Linked DNA regions of Homo sapiens: regions 1, 2, 3, 4, 5 and 7 are each linked to region 6. Evidence: promoter capture Hi-C in 16 types of primary human blood cells and fetal thymus (Javierre and others, 2016). All regions are on one chromosome and are shown on one strand. Each heading gives the region's core, a stretch centred on a gene start or on the middle of the fragment in contact. The rest is flanking DNA. Distances are from core to core; before and after follow the strand shown.

What was found. The method cuts DNA at HindIII sites, captures the fragments that hold promoters and counts their contacts. A CHiCAGO score of 5 or more calls a contact.
Region 1: a fragment that was not itself captured here is called in contact with the fragment with the promoter of C4BPA in region 6 in 12 of 17 cell types (erythroblasts, megakaryocytes, M2 macrophages and 9 more); the score reaches 14.0 in erythroblasts.
Region 2: a fragment that was not itself captured here is called in contact with the fragment with the promoter of C4BPA in region 6 in 1 of 17 cell types (erythroblasts); the score reaches 5.3 in erythroblasts.
Region 3: a fragment that was not itself captured here is called in contact with the fragment with the promoter of C4BPA in region 6 in 14 of 17 cell types (naive CD8 T cells, endothelial precursors, neutrophils and 11 more); the score reaches 14.3 in naive CD8 T cells.
Region 4: a fragment that was not itself captured here is called in contact with the fragment with the promoter of C4BPA in region 6 in 16 of 17 cell types (naive B cells, endothelial precursors, total B cells and 13 more); the score reaches 17.1 in naive B cells.
Region 5: a contact is called between a fragment that was not itself captured here and the fragment with the promoter of C4BPA in region 6, in 14 of 17 cell types (naive B cells, naive CD4 T cells, M2 macrophages and 11 more). The highest score is 9.9, in naive B cells.
Region 7: a fragment that was not itself captured here is called in contact with the fragment with the promoter of C4BPA in region 6 in 16 of 17 cell types (erythroblasts, naive CD4 T cells, neutrophils and 13 more); the score reaches 10.9 in erythroblasts.

What each region holds. Positions count from the first base shown.
Region 1 is chr1:207,563,044-207,567,243 of GRCh38, reverse strand. It overlaps CR1 (complement C3b/C4b receptor 1 (Knops blood group)), which reads right to left. Exons shown (of 47, transcript NM_000651.6): 22 at 3,204-3,380; 23 at 3,010-3,112; 24 at 1,321-1,406. Among named protein-coding and RNA genes, the nearest start is that of CR1, 69 kb to the right of the region's middle. The HindIII fragment of the contact is 1,317 bases long and covers 1,049-2,365 here.
Region 2 is chr1:207,593,663-207,597,480 of GRCh38, reverse strand. All of the region lies in intron 35 of CR1 (complement C3b/C4b receptor 1 (Knops blood group)), which reads right to left. Among named protein-coding and RNA genes, the nearest start is that of CR1L, 50 kb to the left of the region's middle. The HindIII fragment of the contact is 656 bases long and covers 1,308-1,963 here.
Region 3 is chr1:207,427,555-207,431,209 of GRCh38, reverse strand. No RefSeq gene overlaps it. Among named protein-coding and RNA genes, the nearest start is that of CR2, 25 kb to the left of the region's middle. The HindIII fragment of the contact is 3,250 bases long and covers 406-3,655 here.
Region 4 is chr1:207,463,510-207,467,196 of GRCh38, reverse strand. It overlaps CR2 (complement C3d receptor 2), which reads right to left. Exons shown (of 20, transcript NM_001006658.3): 2 at 285-671. Among named protein-coding and RNA genes, the nearest start is that of CR2, 11 kb to the right of the region's middle. The HindIII fragment of the contact is 1,394 bases long and covers 1,113-2,506 here.
Region 5 is chr1:207,519,066-207,523,099 of GRCh38, reverse strand. All of the region lies in intron 4 of CR1 (complement C3b/C4b receptor 1 (Knops blood group)), which reads right to left. Among named protein-coding and RNA genes, the nearest start is that of CR1, 25 kb to the right of the region's middle. The HindIII fragment of the contact is 3,356 bases long and covers 105-3,460 here.
Region 6 is chr1:207,102,416-207,106,562 of GRCh38, reverse strand. C4BPA (complement component 4 binding protein alpha) reads right to left here and starts at 2,330. Exons shown (of 12, transcript NM_000715.4): 1 at 2,133-2,330. The HindIII fragment of the contact is 2,080 bases long and covers 2,106-4,147 here.
Region 7 is chr1:207,443,986-207,447,810 of GRCh38, reverse strand. No RefSeq gene overlaps it. Among named protein-coding and RNA genes, the nearest start is that of CR2, 8.4 kb to the left of the region's middle. The HindIII fragment of the contact is 7,026 bases long and covers 1-3,825 here.

The DNA of each region.
Region 1 (4,200 bases), core at 458-2,957, 460 kb before region 6:
TTGCTTTTGAAAATGTCTAGGTCTGTTGATGATTTATTTTCTCTTTTTACTCTCTGGGTCAGGTTTCAAGTTGTTACTCCTTTCTAGCATCTAATGATTTGTTTAGAACAGTCTCTTCCTCATTTCTAATTGGCATTTTTCATTAGAACTGGCATTTGGAAGAAACTATTTTAACTAGCAAGAGTTATGAAAAATAAGAGAAAGCTTGAGTAGTCCAGTTAATGAGCTTTCATTCATGATAGTAGAACAGACACTTGTCATACTGCTTCAAGGAGCACTGGATTTCTTAGACAGCAAGAATCTCTATATAAGTTATGTTCTTCCAAAATTTTACTCTAAAAATCACTGTAAGATGTCCAAGTATATTTCTAACAACATAAACATTTTAGTAAAATTTCATGATTTTCTAAAGAAACACGTTTTCCAATCATTAGAATCAAGAATTGAAGCAAAGTTCTATCTTCCATTGGGGAAATTATACATGGGTAGACTAGGAGAAATCAGTAGTCTACTGATTATTGAACATATGAGGCTCATTTTAAAAAAATGACTTATTATTTATGAATCTCTCAGCATAAATTATTTAGGTACATGTTTTGAGAATTTAAGGAGTCTCAAACTGCTCACCCTGTCTAATGTTGCTCCCCATTTTTGCCTCATTCCTCAGTGCTTTGCTCTATTGTCTCATAGCATTGAATTTATTTTTTTTCTTGTCCCTCTCCCCACCTAAGTAGAAACAACATGGGGACAGGGAATTCATCCATCTTGTTCATTGATATAACTCCAGTGGCTAGATGAACATCAGGCACAAAGTATGTGATCAATAAATATTGATTAAATAAAGCCATGTTCAATATTTGTGTATTATCATATATATATAAATTGTAGACTGACTGCACTTTGATGGGAGAACAAAATGAAAAAGAAAGAAGGGAGGAAGGAAAGAAGAAAGGGGAGAAGGAGAGAAGAAGGGAAGAAAGAACTGAAGGATGGAAGGAAGAGAAAAAAGAAAGAAAAAACTAGAGAAAGAAAGAAAATTGTTAAAGCTTCACATTATCTAATCTCTCCTGACCTAGGAGCACAAGACCAAAGGATTTATCGCACTAGAACAGAGAATGCAGAAGGACAGAGACAGATCAGATGGTTGCAAAGACAGGTGATGTACATATTGATTCACAACCAAACATTATTAAAATAAACTATTTTTAAATCGATAATTAAGACTAGAATATTGAAGAATCACATTGAGGGAGGCCATAGGACAAATAGTGAACAGATGAAGGGGAGAGATTGGCCTGAAATGTTGCTCCTATTACTCACGTTCACACACTGGAACACTGCTATTCCAAAGGCTTTCCATTCCAGCCAAGACACAATAACTAGCAGAGCTGCCTTTTAATTGAAATCTAAAGAAGAAAATAGGAGTGAATAGTGAGCTGTTTCAGCCAAGAGGACACTTAGTTCACAATCTAAGGCCCAGCCCCAATTTCAGGATTTTGAGGATCTGAGGCCAGCAGATGGCAGAGTTGCACAGGCTACCTTATTCTGGAAAAATCACAGCCTCCAGAAGGGAACAATATAGAATGGCAAAATGTAGTAGCTTGGTCACATGATAGTCCTGCTTGAATTGAAAAAGGTGGTCATGACATAGGCGCCATCCCCTTGACCCAGGACCCAGGCTTGGAGTTTCACTGATTACTCCATGATAACCTGATAAATCACTCATTGTTGTTATTAGAAACCCAGTCTTCTAATGTAATGCCTTCCTAACTCTGACCCTGGAACAGCAAGTAAAACAGCTCCCAGTTTGGAGTGGAAAAGTGGGAAATAGCTGGCGAGAGAACAGAGATTGTCCTTTCATCTCCACATCTGTGATGGCGTGAAGAAGGCTCAAAAGGGCAGTTTGGGCTGCTGAAGAGTAAGCATGAATATTCTAGGGGAAAAAGGAAAGAAGAGAGGACATGATTTTTGTATGCAATTGTCGAAAATTCTCAGTCTTTTGGACCCTGATGCCCTCCTAACTCTTACTGGGTGCTGGCATTTGGAGGCTGCCAAGATTCTGTGTTACATTATGGGATCAGGTGCTTTGTTGCCCATGCCGGTCAGCTCCTGTGTAGAGATGTGCACGCTGTGAAGAGCACTAGATGGACATAAACAAGGTAATGACCTTGCTGGGAATATTAACAGCAGCCATCACGACCCCAGCTCAGAGCCCAGAGCCCATGACTAGCCAGAAGATATATGACTGAATTTTTAAAAAAATGCTGATTTTTACATTTTCAGTCCTATTACAAATTTCACTGTTGATGGTTTAAAGAATTTACTGAAATGATTCTTAAAGGATCCTAGCTTTTAATAATAAGCTTTTCATTACTTGCAATTTTTCCTGGGACTCTCTAAATTACTCATATTCCCTTTTGCTTGTAAAATATGATTTTTTTCCTGAGATGGAGTTTCACTCATTGTTCACGCTGGAGTGCAATGGTGCCATCTCGGCTCACTGCAAACTCCACCTCCCAGGTTCAAGTGATTCTGGTGCCTCAGCCTCCGGAGTAGCTGGGATTACAGGCACATGCCACCAAACCCAGCTAACTTTTGTATTTTTAGTAGAGACAGGGTTTCACCATGTTGTCCAGGCTGGTCTCCAACTCCTGACCTCAGGTGATCTGCCTGCCTCAACCTCCCAAAGGTGCTGGGATTACACACGTGAGCCACCGTGCCTGGCTGATATTTTTTGCTTAATGTGTTACCTATATATTCATAACCACTAGTTATACTTGCCTTTGAACTTGCCAGTTAATATATGTTCCAGTTTCCTCTTCATATCTCATGTTATTAGTTCTATATGTTTCTTTCCTTTCTTCCTAGGTATACTTTCGAAAGTTCATCTCTCTGAAGGTGTGTGTGTGTGTGTGTGTCTTTCTTTTAAGCCACACCAAATCTCCCCTTTTTAGACTGATTCCCAACCCCAATTTCAATGTCCAGCAGGTCAGGCAAGCTCATACTCACCCTTCATCACAAACAAAATCCACTTTTGCTCCAAGCTGGAGATTTACTGGAAATAGCACACGGCCATTAAGAAGTTGGCCCATGAAGTCATCACAGGATTTCACTGGAGATAAAGAAAAACGAACAGAAATCACTGGCATGTGGAGAATAAAGACGCAAGCTAAAAATATCAAGCCAGATAAGAGTCTAGTCACCTTCACATGTGGGGGCTGCAGGGCTCCAGTCTCCCTGGGGTGTGCAGCGCATAGACGCAGCCCCTCTGAGGTCATAGCCGGGCTCACAGCTGTAGAACACTTCCTGCCCGGGTGAAAAGTTGTCCTTGTCCCTTTGGGTACGCTCAGCATGCAGGACATCTGGAGGTGGCTGACATACTGGGGAGAGAGAAACAAAGTACAGCTAATTGTGTGAAAACAACTTTTTTCTCACTGTTAAACTGGCCAAGGGAATAATAATTACGAATCTATATATAATAATAAAGTTAGAATAACAGCCTTATTACATTGATAAACTAAATACACGGGGCAAGGAAGATGTCTTGCCATCAGTCATAGAACTGACACATGGCACAACTGTGACTAAAACAGAGGTATCTCCAATTCATTGTTTTTCATCTAAAGTATGCAACTAAGATTTCACAATGGACAGTTCCTTCTAGAATGCTTCCAATTACTGTTCACCCAGTACAAAATTGGGAGGAATGATGGATTTTTGTATCTTCATACTTCCTTTCTAGAAAGGCATCACCAATTTAGTCTTGCATTTTAAGCAATAAAGGAGTGCCCCTGCCCATGTCCCATCTAATAGGTCCCTCCATCACCTATCACACTGGTGCAACAAAGAGCGTCCATACATCTATGCTCATCTCCTTTCAAGTCTTCTCTCAGCGGCCACCTGACATAGGGTGGTAAAGAACTATGGGTCTCCTCTCTTCATGCTATGTAGCAGGTGCTGCCTAGTCATTCATTTCACTTCAGTGAGAAGGTGGGAAACTGTCGAACAAAATCTGAAAGACCTACTGTCACCATAATGAGAGTGTAATTTCACACAACATATTGTAACGGCATCTCAGGCTCTCTCTTAATGTAGTTGATCTGATCTTGGGAAATCAAAACACATTTGGATCTCAAATAAATTACATAAAACTGTTATAAAATGGAAAAAGTAATTTCAGTTTGTCTTTGAGCAGATCAG
Region 2 (3,818 bases), core at 386-2,885, 490 kb before region 6:
TATTGGGCATTTGTATATTTCCCTTGGAGACATGTCTATCACATCATTTGCTCATTTTCAGTTACTGAGTTTTCAGTGCACAGGTCTTGTGCCTCCTTGATTAAATTGATTCCTAAGTATTTTATTCTTTTTGGTGCTACTGTAAATAGGATTCTGACCATATTTAGAAGCCTTTGTCTTTCAAAAGGGGGGATTGGAATCATTCACATTTACTATTATAACTGATGAGTTTGATCTTATAGTGTTCTTTCCTTTTTATTTATTTAACAATTCTATGGGTTGGAACTCAGCACTGTACAAAACAAACTCCATTCTTGCTCTGCTAAATGGAGTTTGTTTTTTTTTTTGTAATACATAGTAGTATATTTTGTAATATAAAATATGTTATATTTAAATATTGTATATCATGTAAATAAAATTTATATCAATATTTTTATTGATATAAAATAATAGATTTTATCACTACAACTAGGAAGTTAGGAATGAAGTAAGAAAAACTATGATAAACTTATACTATGTAGGGGATACATATTCTTGATGTAAAAAATAAAGAGAAAATAGTACTTTACACCAGTATAAAATCAAAATATGTTAAAAATCAGATTTATATAATATTTTATATCAAATTTATATCATATTTATTATTTTTATAATATATATGAATTTTATGTTATATTATATATATATTATATATATACTTATGAAACCTTCCCCCTGTGCTTTGTACCGTACTTGCAATAGCCTTTTCCTATCTTTGCTTGAACATCATCAAGCCCTAGTTCTTAAACTTTTTTGGTCTCAAGAATTCTTTTCACTCTTAAACATTTTTGTTATTGTTATTGTTATTATTATTATTATTATTTTTTGAGACAGAGTTTCGCTCTTGTTGCCCAGGCTGGGGTGCAGTGGCACCATCTCGGCTCACTGCAACCTCCGCCTCCCGGGTTCAAGTGATTCTCCTGCCTCAGCCTCCCGAGTAGCTGGGATTACAGGCATGCGCCACCACACCTGGCTAATTTTGTATTTTTTAGTAGAGACAGGGTTTCTCCATGTTGGCCAGGCTGGTCTTGAACTCCCGACCTCAGGTGTTCTGCCCGCCTCAGCCTCCCAAAGTGCTGGGATTACAGGCATGAGCCACAGCGCCCGGCCACTTTAAGAAGTATTAAGGACCTCAAAGTGATTTTACCAATGGAGTTTATATCTGTTAATATTTATTATATTAGAAAGAAAAACTGAGGCATTAAAATACATGTATTAATTCACTTTAACGTAATAATGCTAGTTTCCCAAAAGAGAGACAGAAAGCTTGCTAGCTCTTGTTTCTCTCACCCCTCTTTTGTTTTATGGACCAAGTGGTTTCGCCCTTCTGATTATCTTTTAAAATTTGATTATATATATATATATAGATATAGATATAGATATATATAGATATAGATATATAGATTTTATACTGGTGTGAAGTACCATTTTCTCCTTATTTTTTATGTCAAGAATATGTGTCCCCTACATATGATAAGTTTATGATGGTTTTTCTTACTTCATCTCTAACTTCCTAGCTGAAGTGATAAAATCTATTTTTTATATCAAGTTTCTTCTTCTTTTCATATTACATGAATTATCTTTCAAGAATTAGTCCTGCTTTGATATTTTATTTCCATATTAAATAAAACAGTTTTAGTGACCCCATTTAACTAGTTTTGTGCCTCATTAATATTTCTTTGATACAACACCATTTGGAATTTTGATTTCTTCTTCAAAAAGAAAAACTCCCACAGCTTTGTGGGAGTTTTTCTTTTTGTAGGCAGTATATCTAACTGGTGTATGTTTGGGGTTCCTTCTTATTTAAGACGATGCATCTGTGCCTTGCAGATGAATGGCAGCTTGGCCGAGTACAGAAATTTTATTGTACAATATTTCCTCTCAAACACTAACTTCTACTACTTAGTGTTACAGAACGGAAGCTTGGTGCTAAGATGAATTTCTTCTTTTTTGTTATTTCTGGAGAGTGGCAGTATTTTTTTATATTTGGATGGCATAATTTTCTTCCATGTAGGGCCGGGGCCCATTGTTGTTAATCTTGATTTGTCTAGTAAGCCTTCAAGGATCAACTTAGTATTTTTCTTTATAGCCTGAGAAATTGTCTTCCATTATGTGCTAATTAATGCTTCTATTCATTCTGCTTTCTTTTATTTTTTCTGGAATTTCTATATTATATCCCTGTGTGTTTGTGTGTAGTGTGTTTGTGTGTATATATGTGTCATTTCAAGTCTGGTCCTTGATGAATTCTGGAGAATTCAATCTTGTCTTCATTATCCCTTTGGTGTTTTTTTTTTTTTTTTCCGGGGGTTGGGGGCAGGCTCCAATCTACCAGTCATCACTCCTTTTCCGACTCCCATGTGTTTCATTCAAATCTCAACTTTTCTGATATCAGATCATTAAATCTTATAAATGCCTCATATAGTTCCATCGATTCTATGTTACAAACACATATGAGAGATTTTTAAAGATTGTCCCCTGTTTATTGGAGGAAGCTGTTGTGCAGATGAATATTTCTCTGATCTCTTGGGTTGGTTTCTTTTATCTTCAATTTCTTTATCTTGCCTTAGATTTGGTGATATTTTGTTTTGTTTACCATAGGGAAATCTATGTTCATTCACAATGGGAGGTGAGAAAAGGTTGGGCAAGAGGTTGTGTGAAAAGCAGTTTAAATCGTCCAGGCTCAGACAGTCAGAAAAGAGGAATACTGACTCACTCTAGTGACAGAATAGGCTGATGACAAGGGGCAGTTAGTTGTTGCAGTAAAATTTAATATATATCATGTTTTTCCTCTCTGAATTTATCATGGCAACCAAAAATGAGTACACAGTCTTTTTTTTATTATCATACTTTAAATTCTGGGATACATGTGCAGGACGTGCAGGTTTGTTACATAGGTATACACATGTCATGGTGGTTTGCTGCACCATCAACCCATCATCTACATTGGCTATTTCTCCTAATGCTATCCCTCCCCTGGACTCCTACCCTCTGACGGGCCCCACTGTGTGATGTTCCCCTCGGTGTGTCCATGTGTTCTCATTGTTCAACTCCCACTTAGGAATGAGAACATGCGGTGGTTGGTTTTCTGTTCTTGTGTTAGTTTGCTGAGAATGATGGTTTCTAGCTTCATAAATGTCCCTGCAAAGGACATGAACTCATCCTTTTTTATGGCTGCATAGTATTCCATGGTGTATATGTGCCACATTTTCTTTATCCAGTCTATCATTGATGGGCATTTGGGTTGGTTCCAAGTCTTTGCTATTGTGAACAGTGCTGCAATAAACATACGTGTGCATGTGTCTTTATAGAAGGATGATTTATAATCCTTTGGGTATATACTCAGTAATGGGATTGCTGGGTCAAATGGTATTTCTGGTTCTAGATCCTTGAGGAATCACCACACTGTCATCCACAATGGTTGAACGAATTTACACTCCCACCAACAGTGTAAAAGCATTTCTATTTCTCCACATCCTCTCCAGCATCTGTTGTTTCCTGACTTTTTAGTGATTGCCATTCTAACTGGCCCAAGATGGTATCTCAATGTGGTTTTGATTTGCATTTCTCTAATGACCAGTGATGATGAGCTTTTTTTCATGTTTGTTGGCTGCATAAATGTCTTCTTTTGAGAAATGTCTGTTCATATCCTTTGCCCTCTTTTCGATAGGGTTGTTTTTTCTTGTAAATTTGTTTAAGTTCCTTGTAGATTCTGGATATTAGTCCTTTGTCATATGGATGGATTGCAAAAATTTTCTCCCATTCTGTAGGTTGTCTGTTCA
Region 3 (3,655 bases), core at 781-3,280, 320 kb before region 6:
CACAAATAATTATACTATTTTTACAGTAAAGTATATCACACAATTATAATATAATAGTCTTGCAATAAAATTATCATCTAAGTGTTACTCTTATAAAAGAGAAATCATGAAATAGGTAGCCCCTTTTAAAAAAAAACCAGGTGGTAACATAACAGAATTGTCTTAATATTTTAAAAGTATTCAAAACCCATAAATTAGCCCTAAAAAGGTAAATTTTAGCTCCATTAGTTTATAGTTTGTGGTTCCTTCTTCCAGCATTCAAGCTGGTTCCTTTGGGATGTGTAGCTCCAGAAATTTGTATTGAGGAATTGAGAAGTCAGTGGCAGGTCAACTGAGGAATACTTACTCATCTCTGAGGGCAATGCTTGTCATCCCTGACCAATTGTCAGAATCACCTGGGAAGCTTTTTTTTTAAATGTACAGATTCTCATGCCCCACCTGGGAACTACTGAATCAGGTTCACTGTTCACTGAATCAGAACAGGCTGAGAATTTATGAATTTAAAAGTTCCCCAGGTGATTCTGATAACCAACGAAGGTTGTGAACCACAGTTTTAGGAAATTCTGATAAATGGGTAAAAAATTTGAATGTCATCAAGAGGAAGTCTGCAAGCCTAAATATAAATTGTTACAGTTGCTATCAGTTGAAGACATGTAAATGCAATTTGTGGGAATGGATTTAGAGACAGAATATGCAAACTTATCCCTATTGGATTTATTTATTTTTGACAGTATAAACGCCAATGCCAGGATTAAAAATTATAAGTGTAATTATACTGACTTTGGAGAGTGAGGTTTAAATTTAACATGATTTCAAGCAGATACTTCCAACAAAATACCCCCTTGGTAACACCCTAGACTTTGTCATGTCCTAATATGGCACCACTTCCAAAATCTCTAATTCAGACATCCTGCTGTCTACATACAATCTCCACTGCATTCAGCTTACCTATTTCAGTGTCAAACTGCTTGACCTTCGTTTGACTTCATGAGAACTTTCTGTCGCCTTTCCCCTTATTCTAATCTATTTGCCCACTCTTTCTTCAGTTCCTTCCTTAATCAGTCAAAAGTCTATACCACAAGTTCAACAGCACTCCTGCCAGTAACAAACTCCTTTGCCTGCTTCCTTATGGCAACTGTTTAGAAAATCCCAAACCTCAATCATTGTTACTTTCTGCTTTCCTTACCTAAGCACTGAGATAGAGCCACATGGCAGGTTGCACTGGTGGATAAATTCAGGATAACTAATTTCAAATAGACTCAACCTTGTGTGGCAACCTTACCATTGTTTTCCTCTTTTTAATTCACTTTATCAATGATTACTTTGTATCTTCTTTATACTCCTCACCCTTCCAACCATAACTGACCCTTTTCTGCCTGTCTTCTCACCTCCTTCTTCACTGAGAAGCCGTCGGAGATCTAGTCTCCCAATTTCCTGCTAGCAACTCTAGGAACCTCCATCTGCATTCATCTTTTCTTTTTTCCATTTTCTCTCTTCTCTTATTGAAGGTCAGTTCTTTCACATGAGGTCTTGGATTCTACTCTTTCCTGATTTTTCAGAAACATTTAACTATCAAACAATTCCACTCTTGCCTGTATTTTCAACTGTGTTCTAACATTGGATCATTCCCCGTGACATTTAAAAGAGCTAAAAAAAATCTCAAAAGACTTTCTTCCCCCAACTTCTAACCCTTTCTCCTCACTTTCAGAGCTAAATTTCTTTTTCTTTCTTTCTTTCCTTCTTTCTCTCTTTCTTTCTTTCTTTCTTTCTTTCTTTCTTTCTTTCTTTCTTTCTTTCTTTCTTTCTTTCTTTTTCTTTTTTAACTTTTTGAGACGGAGTCTTGCTCTGTCACCCAGGCTGGAGTGCAGTGGCTTGATCTCAGTTCACTGAAACCTCCACCTCCTGGATTCAAGTGATTCCCCTGCCTCAGCCTCCCAAGTAGCTGAGATTACAGGCACGCACCACCACACCCGGCTAATTTTTTTGTATTTTAGTAGAGATGGGGTTTCACCATGTTGGCCAAGATGGTCTCAATCTCCTGACCTCGTGATCTCCCCACCTCAGCCTCCCAAAGTGCTGGGATTACAGGTGTGAGCAACTGTGCCCAGCCTCAGCCAAATTTCTTAATGTCTTGAAAGAGTTACAGATGGCCTGTCCTTTTCAACACCTTTTACTAATGTTCAACCTACTTTGATTTAGCCTCTGTCTCTCTCATTATGACTAACGATCACCTTCATATTGCCAAAGCCAATGAACATTTTTCAGTTCTTGGTGGAATTTGACATTAACCACTGTTTTCTTCTTGAAACAATTTGTTCTGCTGTCTTCCCCAGATATCATTATCTGCTGGTTATCTGCTTAGCTCTCTGGTCATTCTTCCTCTCTATATACATATATATCTTTTTTTCCAGTTTATCCTCCTCTGTCTGGTGATTAAATGTTGGAGTTTCTCGAGGCTGAATCCTGGGCTCTTTTCACATTCTATTATATCTCCACAGGCAAATGTATCTATTACGTCTATGACTTGAAAAATTCTAAATTGAGCTCACACCTGTCTTCTAAGCCTAAGACCCTGTATACCTTATTTTGCCTCTCCATGTGGATACTTCAGTATCAATATGTCAAACACCAAACTCAGTCCTCCCTGACAGAGCAGGAGCACCATCATCTTGGACAAACACTGCCACTTTAAGTTCCAGCTCTTTTTCTAGCCTCATGCATTTCAAGGAAATCACTTTTCTTCTAACAACAAGTGCCCAGAAAGAGCAGACAGTAAAATACAGATAAGACAGCTGGGGCACAGAGGGAGGTGGTGGGGAAGTCTCTTGGGTAACTGCCAAACTTCACCCTCATACAATGGGCCCCAGTAAAACAGTGGGCCTTAATAAGCACATTCCTTTCCATTTAAGTGCACTAAGGGAAGCTAAAAGCAGACTTGGGAGGAGGGTGGGTATGCCTGCAGCTGCAGGAAGATGTATGGGAACAGACACAAAGCTCTCCCTCCCAGATAAGTGCAACAAAGAAACACAGAAGGAGTACAAGCCTCTGATAAACTCTTCCACCCTGAATCCTTAAAAACTCTTAGTCTCTAAGAAAGTAGGCTCTAACCTAACTCAGCCAGAAGCCCCTCTCATGTTTGTTTTCTCTAAAATAAACCCGTCCTTAACTGTCAAGCCACCTTTCATGTATCTTTCCTCTTTCTTTAATTCTTACACTCCCTCCAAAGTTATTGGTTCCTGCCAATGTTTCTAATCTCATTGAATAGTACCATCATGCATCCAGTCACCTAATTTACAAATCTCAGGTTCATCCATGATATCTCATGCTTTTCATTCTCCAATATCTAATCCATCTTTGAGATCCATCTATTTTTTGTTCAAAATACCTCTTTATCCATACTTCCCATATCTTCTGCCAGCATATTCCAAGCTACCATCTCTATCTTAAAATAATGCACTTTTCTTTTAATTGATGTCCCTTCAATTTTTGTGCCTCCCATTCATATTCATTTTTGACATCACACAGAGAGTGATATCTTCAAAATGCAAATCTCATTTTGTTCTATTTGATAGAATAAATTCCTCCTTGTTATTGAAATCACAAAAAAGTCACCCCCACTCCCCTTGCACACACAATTTTATCTATCCCTGAAGCT
Region 4 (3,687 bases), core at 560-3,059, 360 kb before region 6:
CAAACTCTGACCCCATCCTTGCAAAACTTACCCTACTCAATTATTAGGTGTGTTTAATTACATTTTTCCATGTACTTTAAACTCCTTTGCTCAATTGATGTTTTTTGAACGAGCAGTTATATGCCTCCACGAAGAAGCCATAACTTTCACCTTTTCCCTTGTTTCCTTCTTCCACCCTCATCATTACATGTTCACACTGTTTGTCCTTCAGGAGGGTACAAAACGTGGTCTGCACAGAAAGGCAAGACCCCAACCTCCCAACCCAGCTTTCTTTTCATACTCACCACTTACACAGGTTGGTAGTCGTGTCGGCCCCCACATATTATTTGCTTGACACCAAACAGACTTGTTTCCGTTCATGGAGAAGTTGGTTTTACAGGCAAATGTCACAGAATCACCATGTCTGTAGGGTGTAGAGCCTCTAATTTTGTATCCTCCTGGTACTATGGGCTCAGGGCAAGAAGAATATTTATTGAAATATTCACATTTAGGAGCAGGTTTATCCCAGGTTCCATCCACTTTGTCTTTAGTTATGCATAATAGACTTTTTTCTCCAATGAGGCGGAAGGTACCTGAACAACTGTACCTTATCACGGTACCAACAGCAATGGGGGTAGAATAATAACTAATCCGGCCATTTAGGATAGGCGGAGGAGAGCCACAAGAAATCCCTGAAAAGTAGAAAAGGAACTTGGTAGGCATACTGATCATGGTGAGAAAATATTCAAATGTAGGTAAAATATCCAAATATAGATCACATAACTTTTTCAGAAACAGACTTAGAAATATGTATAGTTTATTTATTCCCTGCTTACTCCCAAACTCCTAAATTCTTACCTTTTTCTTGATCCTCAGCAAACAGATCAACATAAATCATCTTGACCAAACAATAATAATGAAAAGAATATATCCAAAAGTTCTGAGTCTAATCAATTTTAATAATGAAACAAAAGGCAAATTCAGCACATGAAAATAACATATTAGTGGCATGATAGTTACATGTGGGGAGGTACCATGGATTAGGGAAATTTGAGCTCAGTGGACCTAGTTTCAACTCCCCACGGTCATTCAATAGCTGTGTGACCTCAGGCAAGTCTTACTCTCTTTAAGCTTCAGTTTCTTAGTCTATAGTATAACGCAAACTACTTCATAAGGTATAGTGAGAATCCAGTGCTAAAAGTACATGAACAGAGAAAGTACAATACCTGGAACATACTAATTATTCAATGGCTGCTTCAAACACACAACTGGGGGTACAGGCTGAGATGACCACTTTTGGTCCTGCTGCTGAAGATGCTAGAGCCTCAGTACAGGTGATTTGTCCTGACTTGAGGCTGGAACACTTTGAAAAAGCCACAGGAAGTGAACAGAGGTTTTGAATAATGGCCTCATATTCTTCATTTACTTGTCCTAATAACCATGAAGGATATTGTTTACATTTACTTTGTTATGCACGCCTTTTCTGAGGGAGTCTCAGAATAAAGGGAAAATTGCCAACCTCTAGAACTTTCAGTTAACTTCCCTTTGGCTCCAAGAGGAGGTCTTCAGTGAAAACTGACATAAGAAGATACAGCCAAACTGTTTCATCACATCAGTGCTATACTTGGTTTCAGTAAGGGTAACTTTCGAGAACTGTTGTCTTTATACATATAGAATCTGCAGTATAATATATACTCAACTGAATCAATTTAACATCTTTGGTCTGCATTCCAGAAGACAGAGAAGAGTGGCATATATATGTTCAAAGCACACCTATGGATAAGATGTGATAATTATATATATATATATGTATGAAAAAATCTCTAATCATTGACTTTGGTGCTATCTGCTTTTTTAAAAAAGCATCTTTTAATTTCCCCTACAATAACACAGATCTAGCACTGCCCCAAAATACAAAAGAAGAAAAAGTCCTACATCTGCAACATTTAGATATTACTTTCAAAGTTTACTTTTAAACTCTTTAACTAGGCAGGGTGTGGTGGTTCACGTCTGTAATCCCAGCACTTTGGGAGGCTGAGGCAGGTGGATCACCTGAGGTCAGGAGTTCAAGACCAGCCTGGTCAACATGGTGAAACCCCATCTCTACAAAAATACAAAAATTAGCCAGGCATGATGTTGGATGCCTGTAATCCCAGCTACTCGGGAGGCTGAGACAGGAGAATCGCTTGAACCCAGGAGGTGGAGGTTGCAGTGAGCCAAGATCACGCCATTGCACTCCAGCCTGGGCGACTGAGCGAGACTCCATCTCAAAAAAACAAAAACAGAAACACAAAACAAACAATAACAATAAAAAACTCTTTAACTAGAAAACTCAACCACATATACTATCTTCCTTCTGCTCTTTCCATAGGTACCATATATCTATTTCCCAGAAAAACCTTGTTTTATTTCTAGATCCTGAAGTTTCAGCCCAACTCACCCCTGAAGCACTTTGGCAGTAGAGGATTCTGTTTGCTGTTTAGTTGACACCATATTACATTGCTGCCTTTCAGGGTAAAACCAAGCTTACACTTAAATATCATGTATCATTTTAAAAAAATGAACATAATCCAGATTCCACAACTCCATTTTCAACTTCTATAATTGAGCATTCAAGTAAGAGTAATACACTGAAGAGGAGGGTTGCTCCAGAGCTCCAGACATCAACTTGATTATCTTTGCTGGTGCAATGCATTGACTTCTCATCCAAGAGGTCAAACAGCTTTTCCCTATTACATCCAATATGGCACTGATGATTTCATAGCAAACCCCTCTCCCTGCTGCTGCTGTCAAAGTCCCATGGGGGATGGCTGGGAGTGACTTACAAGGAATACCTTTTTAAGGAGTAGGTGGGGAAAGAGAGAATATTATACTTTCTGAGAATTTTCTCTTCATTCTTGCAATCCAAACTGCAACTCAGCCTACAATTTACCTATTTTGTTGAAATTCTGTATCCTGATCTCAAAGATGATTCTAAATAGGAAGTAGCAAGGTCAAAAGATATATGGAACTGGCTGATAAAAACCGAAAAGCTATGAGCTGGTCACCAGTCCCCGCCCCAGACCACAGATAAATTGTTATAGAAGGGACCTAGGGTGGCTTACTTTTTGCATGGAATAAAGTTGGCAGTGTGTAATCTCCTGGAATGTTTTAGATGTAAGCATTTACTCACTATGAAATAACTTATAATCAAAGGACAGTAAACAAAGGAACGTGTGGTAGGATTGGGGGCCATGAGGAAGATGGGTAAGTCATAGCTGTGTGCCTAGAGCTACTCAAACCAAGTGTAAACCCTCCTGGCTACTCACTTTGGTGTGCAGATGCTCAATTTCCCTCTGGAAGGGGACAAGAGGAATTAAATAGGGTGCAATAAAGAGATTGTTTTACTTACATTCATTAAAAGGCATGTCATTATCCCAGGTTACAATATTGTCTGAGATAATACATGTAGCAGATGAGTCACCAAAGAGTAGATATCTAAAGACAAAGAGATAAGAAATCTCGCGGCACACGTTTACCCTGTAACAAAACTGCACATCCTGCACATGTACCCCAGAACTTAAAATAAAAATAAAAATAAAGAGTGATCATCTCCCAGCTAGACTTACATTTTAGAAAAACTTAGTTCTTTCTCTACTGAAAGAATAGCAGAGAATAGAATATCATTTATGACAAGCAGGGGTGACAGATTAAGGACTCATACAATTT
Region 5 (4,034 bases), core at 533-3,032, 420 kb before region 6:
AAATCTAAATGATATAAATGGAAATACAAATTACCAAAATTCATTCAAAAATATACTTCCAAATGTAATTTCAAGGTTTCACAACATATAAAAGATATGAAGCTTACCAACTCATTTCATCAAATCTAAGTTTGATATCATAAGATGATATCTGTGTAAAAGTGATCATATATTAGTCCACAAAAACCCCTAAATACATTTTAAAGTATAGCAGTAGTACATAGTATACTGTGTTGCTATAAACTAGAACAAAATTTCTTCAACCCAAATCCCAAAACACTTGAAATTAAAACTGAGTGAATTTAATTGGATAAATTTAGAAATGAATGAATTAAAATTAAAAATAAAAATTTTTCAGGCTCTGCTTCTACTAATAGTAATCTCAACAGTTCAAATAAAATATTGCTCCAACCATCCACCCTCAAGAAAGGCTAGAAATACTGGAGAATTAAAAATATTTATCTGTTAAAGCATCAGAAAGCTAACAAACTAGTGAAGCATTCCTGGGCCATGATCTAGGAGAAGATGAGAATCCAGTTGAGAGCTGGGTATTTGGGCTTGGCAACTGGGCTGCTTATTGTTTGGGAATGGGCAGCTGAATCAGGACGGGGCAACTGAGAGGCTGAACAGACTTTTGATTTTCTCATGAAGTTAAGGGACAACAATGGAAGTCCAGGGCCTGCCCCAAATGGAAGGCCTGGTAATACCTTCTGATGTGTTCTGAGGCCACAAGAACTAGGCCCTGGTAATCAGGGTTAACTGAAAATAAATTTGCTGTCTCAGAGACTGGAACTAGTACTTCAAGTACTGGTACTGTGGGTGGCCCTGGAAAATCACAGTTCCTGAGACTGAATTAGAGTGGTCCTAGATTGCTAATGTCCCCAGATGCCTGCAGAAACAATGACAAAAATTCCATCTGGAAGAAGATGGGTTATCTAAGGCCTTGAAATTATTTCTACAGACACAGTTTTCAAATAGAATTCCTGATACACAATCAAAGATAACCAGATATTTGGAGAGATAAAATAACACACACAATTACTGATGACAGAAACTGACCCATTAGAACTACAGACCTGTTCAAGGGTATAATTGAAACTTGTAAGAACTAGAAACTATTAAAAAGAACAGGGTGGGATGTGGTGGCTCACGCCTGTAATTCTAACGCTATGGGAGGCTGAGGAGAGTGGATCGTTTGAGCTCAGGAGTTTGAGACCAGCCTGGGCAACATGGCGAAACCCTGTCTCGACAAAAAAAAAAAAGTATATATACATATATATATATATATATATTATCCAGATGTGTAGGTGTGGTGGTGCACACCTGCATTCCCAGCTACTCAGGTGGCTGAGGTGGGAGAATTGCTTGAGCCTGTGAAGGTTGAGGCTGCAGTGAGCTATGATTATGCTACTGTGCTCCAACCTGGGCAACAAAGTGAGACCCTGTCTCAAAAAAAAAAAAAAAAAAAAAAAAAAGGAAGAGGGCAGATTTGGAAAATAAAAAGTCTAGAATTGTAAAAGTAAAATATGATTGCTGAAATTAAGAATTTGTGTGAGATTAATAGCAGGTTAGACTCTGAAAGAAAATCAATGAACCGGAAGCTAGGACAGAAGAAAATACTCAAAACCAAGCACCAATATATAAAAAGATTAAAAAATACAGACTAAATACATAGAAGAATAAAGCCTAGCATGTTTAACTGAAGTCCCTCGATGAGAAGAGAGAGAGAACTGAGCATAAACAACATTTGAAGAATTAATAACTGAGAATTTTCCAAGACTGATGCAAGACATCATTAAATTACAGGTTCAAAAGGCTATACAGGCCTGGCACGGTGGCTCATGCCTGTAATCCCAGCAGTTTGGGAGGCCGAGGTGGGCAGATCACCTCTTGTCAGGAGTTTGAGACCAGCCTGGTCAACATGGTGAAAACCCATCTCTACTAAAAGGGTAAAAATTAGCCAGGCATGGAGGCACAGGCCTGTAATTGCAGCTACTTGGAAGGCTGAAGTGGGAGGATAACTTGAACCCCGGAGGCGGAGGTTGCAGTGAGCCGAGATATCCCACCACTGCACTCCAGCCCAGGTGATAAGAGTGAAATTCTGTCAAAAAAAAAAAAAAAAAAAAAAAAACAACCAAAAAAAAAAAAATGTGCAAACCCAAGCAATACAAAGAAATTCTTACCTAGACACAACACAATAATATTGTAAAAAATCTGTTTTAAAGTGTAATCCATTTTAAAAGCAGCCAGGAAACATGGACAATAACCTTCAGAGGAACCACACTTAGAAAAATGTTTAAAGAATTTGTTGTCAGAAGCTCTACAATACAAAAATGCCAAAGAGACTTTTTCAGGCTGAAGGAAAATAGTTTCATATAGAATTGACAGAATTGCAATAAGAAGGAAACACACCAGAAAGAGCTCATATGCGGGTATGTTTTCATTTAGGATCTTTATGATAGAGAAAACCTCTTCAGTCATTACAAGAAACACAAGATGGCAGTAAAGATTTTATTACGGGCTGGGGGTATGGCACGCCTGAAGATCACACAGAGGTTGGTCAGCGCGAGGAGACAGACAGAGAGAAGGGGACCCATCAGCCAATGCCTTTATTGGGGACCAGAGTATGACCCAGCATCTTGCATCTACAAGCCAAGGTATCTCCCATGGGGAGTTCTAATTGGTGAGTTTAAAGAAAGCAGGCACATGTTCCAGGCAGTCGTGCTGCGACTGAGAGGTGGTCACGGCAGCATATCTGCGAAGTCCATGCAGGGCACAGAGGTCAGGGACGCTAGTCAAGTAGGTTTTATCTAGCTGTCCCATAGAGAGGTGGTCACCAGGAGGCAGTTGTATAAGGCAGATATCTGGCTCGACCACGTTGCAAAATTGGGAGGAGGTACAGAACTAGAAAGGGCATTAAGGGTGACTAAGCCCTGCTTCTGGCATGAGAAAGCTAAACATATTCTAAATGGATGCTGAGGCAACATAAAAATTCTAAGAATTCACTAAGGTGTAAATATAAATAAATACTGTTTTTATAAAGACAACAGTGTCTTTGAAATATAGAATATATGTAAATCGTTAAATCAAGTTTAGCCTAAAGCCTTACGTAGTTTAAGCTCAGCCTAAAGGTTTCTCTGTAAACTGCAAACTATAACAAGTGAAGATGTAAACAGACCGCAGACTACTCTTACGCCAATCACCGAGTTTTGGCCAATCAAATGTGGCCAACTGTTTGAACTGTTTTCAAATAAGGCAAACGCTGAGCTATAACCAATCGGCTGTTTCTGTACCTCACTTCTGTTTTCTGTACGTCAGTTTCCTTTTTCTGTCGGTAAATCCTCTTCCCCCATTGCAGCTGGGCTGGAGTCTCTGCGCTTACTTTGGCTCGGGAGGCTGCCTGATTTGCGAATCGTTCATTGCTCAATTAAACTCTTTTAAATTTAATTCAGCTGAAGCTTTTCTTTTTGCAAAACGTATGGCAACAATACAAAAAGAGGGGGAGGACATAAATGGAATTAACTATTAATAGTTTCGGTACTTGCGTTGTTTGGAGAGTGGTAAAAGTACAATTTTAGCAGACTATAGTAAATCAAGGATGTCTATCTCTAGAGTAGTCATTTAAGAATAAAAAATGGAATATAACTTAAAAGCTACTGGGGAAATAGAATAATAAAAATACTTGATGAATTAAAAAATGTGAGAAATGAGGAATAAAGGAACAAACACATGAAACAAATACCAAGACTTAGACTTTATATCAGTAACTATATTAAATTTATTTATTTTTAATTTTTATTATTAAATTTTAATGTTCCAAACACACCAATGAACAACTAAGACTGAATAAAACAACAAAACCTTACTATATGATGTTTATAAGAGACAAGCTTTAAATATAAGACAAAGAAGGGCTGAAAGTAAAAGATTTAAAACACATATAATATAAAAACAATAAAGAAAGCTTATATAGCTGTATTAATATGCAAAGTAGATTTTAAGGTAAGAAGTATTATGAGAGGTAAAGAGAGACA
Region 6 (4,147 bases), core at 1,081-3,580:
GGCTGAGGCAGGAGAATGGCCTGTGAACCCGGGAGACGGAGCTTGCAGTGAGCAGAGATTGCACCACCGCACTCCAGTCTGGGCAACAAAGCGAGACTCCGTTTCAAAAAAAAAAAAAAAACTTACACGGAGGAAGGAATAAGACAGAATAAACAATAATAAATCTAAAAGGAATGAAAGTCAATTTAATTTTATCTTTAGAATGAGAATGACTGTCTCACTGAGGACCAAATGAAATAATGTGTGTGAAATGCTTTGTCAGTTTTGAAGAGAGATAATACAGTGACTAGACTTCCCTAACAAACCATCAGGATGCATCCTAACTCTTCTCCAACTACGGCATTTGCAGTTCACCATAACTACTCCTGGTGGTCCCTCAGCAGAAACCAGCTGGCCACAGAGTATGGGAATGGAGGCTAGAACTTGCGAGCTGAGAAGACACAAGTTGGAGTTCCAGCAATACCACAGTCTAAGTCTGTGATCTTGAAGAAGCTATATCAGCTTCTTGGATATCAGTTCCCTCCATCTCTAAAATAATGACATTAAACCTAGATGAACAAATTCTGCAATTCTGTAACTGCTCACTGAAAAGCTGAGACTACTCTAGCCAACTTTCATATTTCAAGGACTTCACCTTTTAAATTCCTGCAGAAATGGAACCAACTCAAGAACTTTAGTCAGCATGGCGGGTCCCTTGTGAAAAATAATATCAGCACTTAGCAATGCAGTGCAATTTGAGAGTCACTGGAAAAATCTTTAGTCCTCAAATTTCTCCTTCCATGAGAAGTTACTTTTTAAGTTAATATTTATTTTGTCTAACTTCCCCCTTTTAAAATGCAGATACCTTGTGAAAGGATAGTATTTTTCTCCAGTCTCGGGCTGAGTGTCTTCTTCCTTATACCTGGGCTCTCAATTATATCACTTACAAACTCCAGAAAGAACTGGCTCCCACACTTTCCCCACCCTTCCTAGAATCTCTTTTTTTTTTCTTTTTTTTTTTTTTTTGAGGTGGAGTTTCACTCTTGTTGCCCAGACTAGAGTGCAATGGCACGATCTCAGCTCACCCCAACCTCTGCCTCCCTGGTTCAAATGATCCTCCTGCCTCAGCCTCCCAAGTAGCTGGGATTACAGACATGTGCCACCATGCCTGGCTAATTTTGTAATTTTAGTAGAGACAGGGGTTCTCCATGTTGGTCAGGCTGGTCTCGAACTCCCGACCTCAGGTGATCCGCCAGCCTCGGCCTCCCAAAGTGCTGGGATTACAGGAGTGAGCCACCGTACCTGGCCAAATCTCTTTATTTTTCTATCAGCCCCTTTATTCTGTGCTCATACTACATTCAAACATATCTCTAAGCTTAATGCCAACCTTCTTTGATGCTTCTGCCTCTTCTGTAGTCTACTTTTTATTCTTTTGGTGTTACCATATTTAGAGATAGAATAGGAATCAGCAAAGAGACAAGTGGTTGAAGAATTAAAATGAGGACCAGAATGGTACTGTATCCTGGCCAACCAAGGAAGAAGAGAATTTCAAGAAGGAAGGGTTATCAGCATCGTCAAATTCAGAAAGTAAAGAAGATGAGGACGACTAAGACTGCTAGCTTCAGAAACCAACTGGAGGCTGGCCAGTGTCCTCCTTATTACCAAATCTAAACATCTTTGCTGTCAGTGGTGGAGGAGATTTGGAGTGGTTAATCAAATCTCAAAATAGAAATGGCCCCAGTTTTCAGAATGTAGACTAAGAAAAGCAAGCTTCCTGTGAACCCTTTGAAAAGTCTGATTGACCCCTTGCCTCAACTCTGATGTGGGAAGGTGGTGAAAGATCAACAAACCAACACATCTGTCTTTTAGATACAGTAACAAGAGCAACACCTTACACCTCTTCTTCTTTAGCTTATTTTATTAGAATGCAATATTATTCCTCCATTTATAATTTTTAAAACTTGAGGTTCAGATAGGGTTTAAAGTACGTCTCAAGTCTTACATCCCCCTAATACAGTGCTCCTGAAAAGATTTCTGCTGAAAACACCTCCAAGCTTTTGTCTCTGTTTTATCCTTCTAATCCTGCACTCCTTAAAGGGCCAAACCACCAGCCTTTCCTCCAAGCTTCCCCAAGGGTTTAGTAGTCCACCGACCTTTGGTAGTTGAGGAAGAGCAGAAGACTCTATGATGATATCTGGGATAGTTTCTCAAAGAAGAAAACTGCCTTGATCTATGTAGTCCTGGTTCCTCCCCAGATCAGAGTTTATCATAATACCCTGAAGTTGACTGGTAATTGCTCCACCAAAGAGTCCCTGAATTTCAGCCATGTGGTTGGCTGGTCAAGGACGGTTGATGGAAATAGATGGGCAGAAACTTTTGACGGGCCCAATGAATGATTAACAGCAGAAATAAAGCAGCACTGTTTACCTAAGCTCCTTCCTCTTTGCTAGTCCTCATTCTTCGTAACATGTCGCAATCGTTTATTTTCTCCTCTGCCAACCATTTCCCCTAAGTGGAAAGGTAATTTGAATTTGAAGCCAGAATTCTTTTTTCTTTTCATAAACACATAAGGGTTATGGCAAGACACAGTCCAGCTAGCCTGGAAACCTTGGATACTGCGAGGTTCAGAGAGCCTCCGCAAAAATGATCCACTTTCCATGACACTAGGTCCAGTATGCTTTCCTGGAGTTTGAAAACTGATATTCTTGCCCAGAGCTCGTCTCTATCCCACCCCAAGGAATTACAAAAGGTGGGGAATTTATCAAACATGCATTGGGTTTCCACTATGTGCTGAGTTATCTAGAACGTATTTGGAGTTCAGCAAATGTTAACTGCTACTACATGTCAGGCACCAGAGGGCCTCCAAAAATTGATCTATCCAGTGCGCTCAGAAGAACGCAATGAAGGACCGGCCATGTTTCCTCTCGCATAGATCTAAAAAGACCACAAGCACTTACATAGTCCAATTAAGCTACTAATCCTCAAGGTTAAGATTTGTGTGCTCAGAAGATTGCTATTAAAAGGCAATTCTTTCTGAGAACTTCACTTTTTCTGTAATAAATACTGAAAGTCCCAGAAGAGTTTCAGAAAAGGAACTAAACTACAACAGGTTGAGTTAATCAAGGAAGTTTCTACAGAAGATGTGAGATTTGGATAAAAGGTAGAAATTATTAGATAAAAGTGGTAAGGATATTAGATGTAAAGAAACCATGCGCTAGGTCACCAAGGTGAGACACTGATTTGACCAGAATGAAGATAGAGGAGGATTCCAGATTGCACAGTCTTGAGACTAAATTGGAAGAAATATCACCTTTAAAGCTGCTATTTCTTTAAAGTACCGTTTTCCAATGTATTGAAGTCCTTTCGTTTACTTTCCACAGTGACTCTTGCAGATTTTTCTCTCCAGGTCACCAAATTGTCACATTCCCTCTCAGCAGATGCTCTTACCTCCTACTTTACTAAAAATCATTCTACCTTAGCTTCATCAATGTCAAATTTTCCCTCCTATTCACTCCTCATTCCGAGGAGAATTGTTTCTTCTTTTCCTGCCTCATTTTCAATGCATCTCTCATCCTGAAATGTCCCTTCAATTTTGCCAATACCTCAAATTCCACCTTTCTTCTTTAGTGTGATGCTGAACTTCTCAAAGGTGTGACTTGTTCTACCTGCCTGTTCTTTCTCATTCATCACTCCACCTGTTGCTTTCCCATCTGGCTTCTACCACTCTTCTACTGACATGTCTCTCTGAGGCACGCCCTTAGGTCCAAGTCCAAAATATCTTTAATTCATTTCTTAGGATCTGTCTGCAGCCTTTGTCACTGCTGATCATTTCCTTTCTGAAACTCTCTTCTCCTTTGGCTTCCATGACACTAAACTTACCTGATTCCCTTAACTTAACTAATTTCTCTTTCTTAGTTACTGTTACCTTCTCTTCCTCCTTCTCATTCCTAAATATAGATATATCTCAGGCTCTTCTTTTTTTAAAAAAATTATCTTCGCAATTTTAATGATCTTGCCTTCTGTCACAGCTTTAACTATTACCAGTAAGAAGACTAGCCAGCACTACATTATTATTTCTGATTACTCTCCGAAACTCAAGACTTACTTTCTTAGGTTTTGTTTTTTTTTTCCCCCCACTGGACATCTTGCAAGCACTTCACCCTCAGCA
Region 7 (3,825 bases), core at 514-3,013, 340 kb before region 6:
GGAGACTGTTATGTAGAACATGTGAAGAACTGCTACATACCCATAGGAACGATATACCAATTAAAATGGGTAAAAGAATGGAATTCTATTTTCAGTAATGTTATGTCCTAGGTTAACTGGATGAATTATTCCACTGAAAACAACCCTAAGTGCTGAAATACGTGTGTGTGTGTGTGTGTGTGTATGTGTGTGTGTGTGTGTGTTTAGATCGATCTATCTATCCTATCTGTCCATCCATCCTGCCTATCTATCTATATATCTATCTATCTATCATCTATCTAGATATCCCTATAAATATATATAATCAGAATGTATAAGAGAAATTATTAGGGCAACATAAAAGAGAAAGTGGAAATCTACTAGGTCATTTTAGGGGTGTGGGAGAATTTGAGCTTTGATTCTTGTAGAATTTCGGGCCACTAGAAACAGAAATCAAAGCTCACCAGGATGGCTGAAATTAAACAATCAGATAATAAAAAGTGCTGATGAGGATGTAGTGAAACTGGAACCCTTGTACACTGCTGGCAGGAATATCAAATGGTGCAGGTACTTTGGAAAGCAATCTGGTAGTTTCTCAAATGATTAAACCCAGCAATTCCTCTCCTAGGTAAATACCCAATAGAAATGAAAGCATATGTTCACACAAAAACTTGTACATGAATGTTCATAGCAGCATTATTCATAACAGTCAAAAGGTAGAGATGACTCAAATGTCAATCAACGGATTGATGGATAAACAAAGTGTGTACATCCACATAACGGAAAAAACCATAAGATGGAATGATGTACTGATATGTTACAACTTGGATGAGGCATGAAAACATTATGCTAACTGGAGGAAGCCAATAACAAAAGTCCACACATTATATGATTCCATTCACGTGAAAGTCTGCAACAGGAAAATCTATAGAGACAGGAAATAGATCAGTGATTGCTTAGCAGCGGAGGGGAGTATAAAGGGAGGATGGATAATAGGGAGTGGATAGAGGATGACACTAAAAGAGTATTCTTCAGGTGATGAAAATGTTCTAAAATGGACTCTAGTAATGACTAAATGTATTTGTAAATATACTAAAAGTCATTGAATTGCATACTTTAAATGGATGAATTGCATGGTATATGAATTATGGTTTAATAAAACTGTATTTAAAAAACCCTAAAGATAAAGAAAACTTGAAAATCAGTAATGGAAAAAGATATGTTATGTAAACAGTAGTAAAAGATATATGTAATTATATCAATTGTTGACAAAAGAAAATTTAAGAACAGTTCACTTAGATGATATAATAATTTTAAGTTTTTCTACATATAATAGTGTATCTTCAAAACATTTAAGACAAATTCAACAGAACTACAAGAAGAAACAGACAAATTTACAATGCAAATTTAAATTCACAGATACATTTTATCTGTTGATAATTGATAGAATAAGTTGATAAAATTAGCAAATAAATTGAAAATTTATACATGATTAACTTGCAAGGCATAGGGAACTTATAGAACACTGCGCCTGATAAATGCAGAAGACATCCTTTTTCAGATACAGAAAGCTAATGTACAAAAATTGATTGCAAGCTAGATCATAGGGCAAGTCTCGAAAAACTTCAAAGATTGAAATCATGTGGAATATGTTCTCTGATCTCTACGCCATTGAGCTAGAAATTAATAATCAATAAATACTTTTTAAAAACTGTATGTTTGAAAATTAAGATAGACATGTCTAACTTATACATAGGGCAGAAAAAAATCATAATAGAAACGAACATATATTAGTGTGTTTTTCAAACTGAGCCATAGGAGAAAAAAACATTAAAATTTATGGGATACAGCTAATGCGGGTTTTAGAAAGAGATATTAGATATATTGTCTTAAGAGGTCAGAAAAAAAAATCCGAAGAAAGGAGATAGTAAAATTAAAACAAAAAATCAGTGACATCAAAAACAGGAGCCAAGTTGGGTTCTTAAAAAATCTAATTAATTTGTCAAATGACCAGTGAGAATGATCAAGAATAAACAGAGGGACAAAAATAAAAGTAATGATGAATATTAGAAAGGTATAAGGGGCCATTACTGCAGATAGATCAAGAAGAGAGGGTATGTTTGCTGTCAACAGCAACCAGAATGCACCAACCAGAAGTCCTTAGCAAAATGTTTCCCAATCTATGATTTATCCTAAGATAGTATCTGTTTCCATGATCAGCTTTGGAACTTCCTAGCTTCTGCTGAATTATAAAGGAGATTGATATCAAGCCATTCTAAACCATCTCTAGTCCTCCTGCCTTACAGCAGAATTCTATTTATGCACAAGTTACCCTTAGACCATAGGTTGTGGATGAGATCCTTGCTCCAGCACAAAGCAATTGCCATTGTGTAAATGGGGCTACCACATCTGCAAGTTGTGGTTCTCAGTGTTGATGAGCTATTGTCTGAACCTCCTGGGGTATTGCCAAGAACACATAGCAAGTGTAGGGGCATGGTAGAGACCATGCAGGTGGCTGCAAGAGAAGAGAATCACTCTCCATGAGACTTAATTTTTCCCAATTCAAGTATTTTAAAAATCAGTTATGGTTTCCTGTCATGACACTAATATGGAGTTTTAAAACAGTTGCAATGTTTTGCAATCTAATAAACTTACATTACTTAGAGTTTGGGTATCTTGAATACAACATAAAAGTCATATGTAAAAAAACAAAATGAATCCTAGAGATTTCCTGGAAAAAAATCTGGCCAGTTATCCAAAAAGAAGAGGAACTGCTTCCTTTAGGGGGTTTCCGCACTGGCCTGGGGTGTGTGGGATGTTGGGCCCTCAAAATAGTGAAAGAAGTTCATTTAGGAGTCAAATAAGAAGGAATATTCTTTCCCCTTTGCAAAGCAGAATTAATGTAGTATCAGAATGAGTAGAATCAGTGTCTAGATTCCGGCTAAGATAATTCTTTCCCCTTCCAAACCACTTGACTATCTTCGCTGAAAACCAGCACCTTCTACAGTAAGCAGTAAGCTGCCTCGGAATACTTCTGTCACATAATGCTAATCAATGAGCAGTCCACAAAAATGGTCAAACATCTGTGTGACCTGGTCATGTTGCTAGTCGTGATAATGGTGTGGGGTGGTCTGGAGGATGGGGGACAGGGACATTTGCAGGGACTTTCCAAACTGCCTAATGCTTTGCAGGCATTTCATCACCATTTCTGTTTTCATTCCTTCCAGTCAAAGCAGAAAGAGATTTTCCTGCCATTTGGACCTGTCTTCCTGCAAAACTCATGGATTTGCATATCATATTTTACTGTATTTTACTTATTTCAGATTTTGTGTTTATGAGGTACTGAAACAAAGGCTTGACCCCTCACAGTTTTAAGGGATGCAGAATACCCTTTGGGAACAGAGATGGATTGCTGTCATCGGGTCATCCTATGTCTGCCTCCAGAGGTGGCCGTGATACTGAAGAACAGTGAGGGGCCAGTAAGTAGTGGAAGAGGGTGTCCTTTCACACTCCTTCCAGAATTCCCTACCTTTTCTTAATAGCCCTTTTGTTTACCTTGGAGTTTATCCAAATCTTCATTTAAACAAATATCTTTGGCTTCAAGAAGACACAGGATTGGTCATGTCTCATCATCTTTATTTCTACTTCTCCCTGACATGTGGAGAAGTCCTATAGTTGATCTTCTTTACCGAGACTTCAGTTTAAAAAGAACTTTAATAAACTAATTTACTTTAGTGATGTAACTTAATATAATTTAGTGATGACACAAAACTAAATCTGAAACATTTAGAATAGTATTTTATTAAAAATAAATTACTTTCCCTTCCCTAATTTATCAGCAATCAA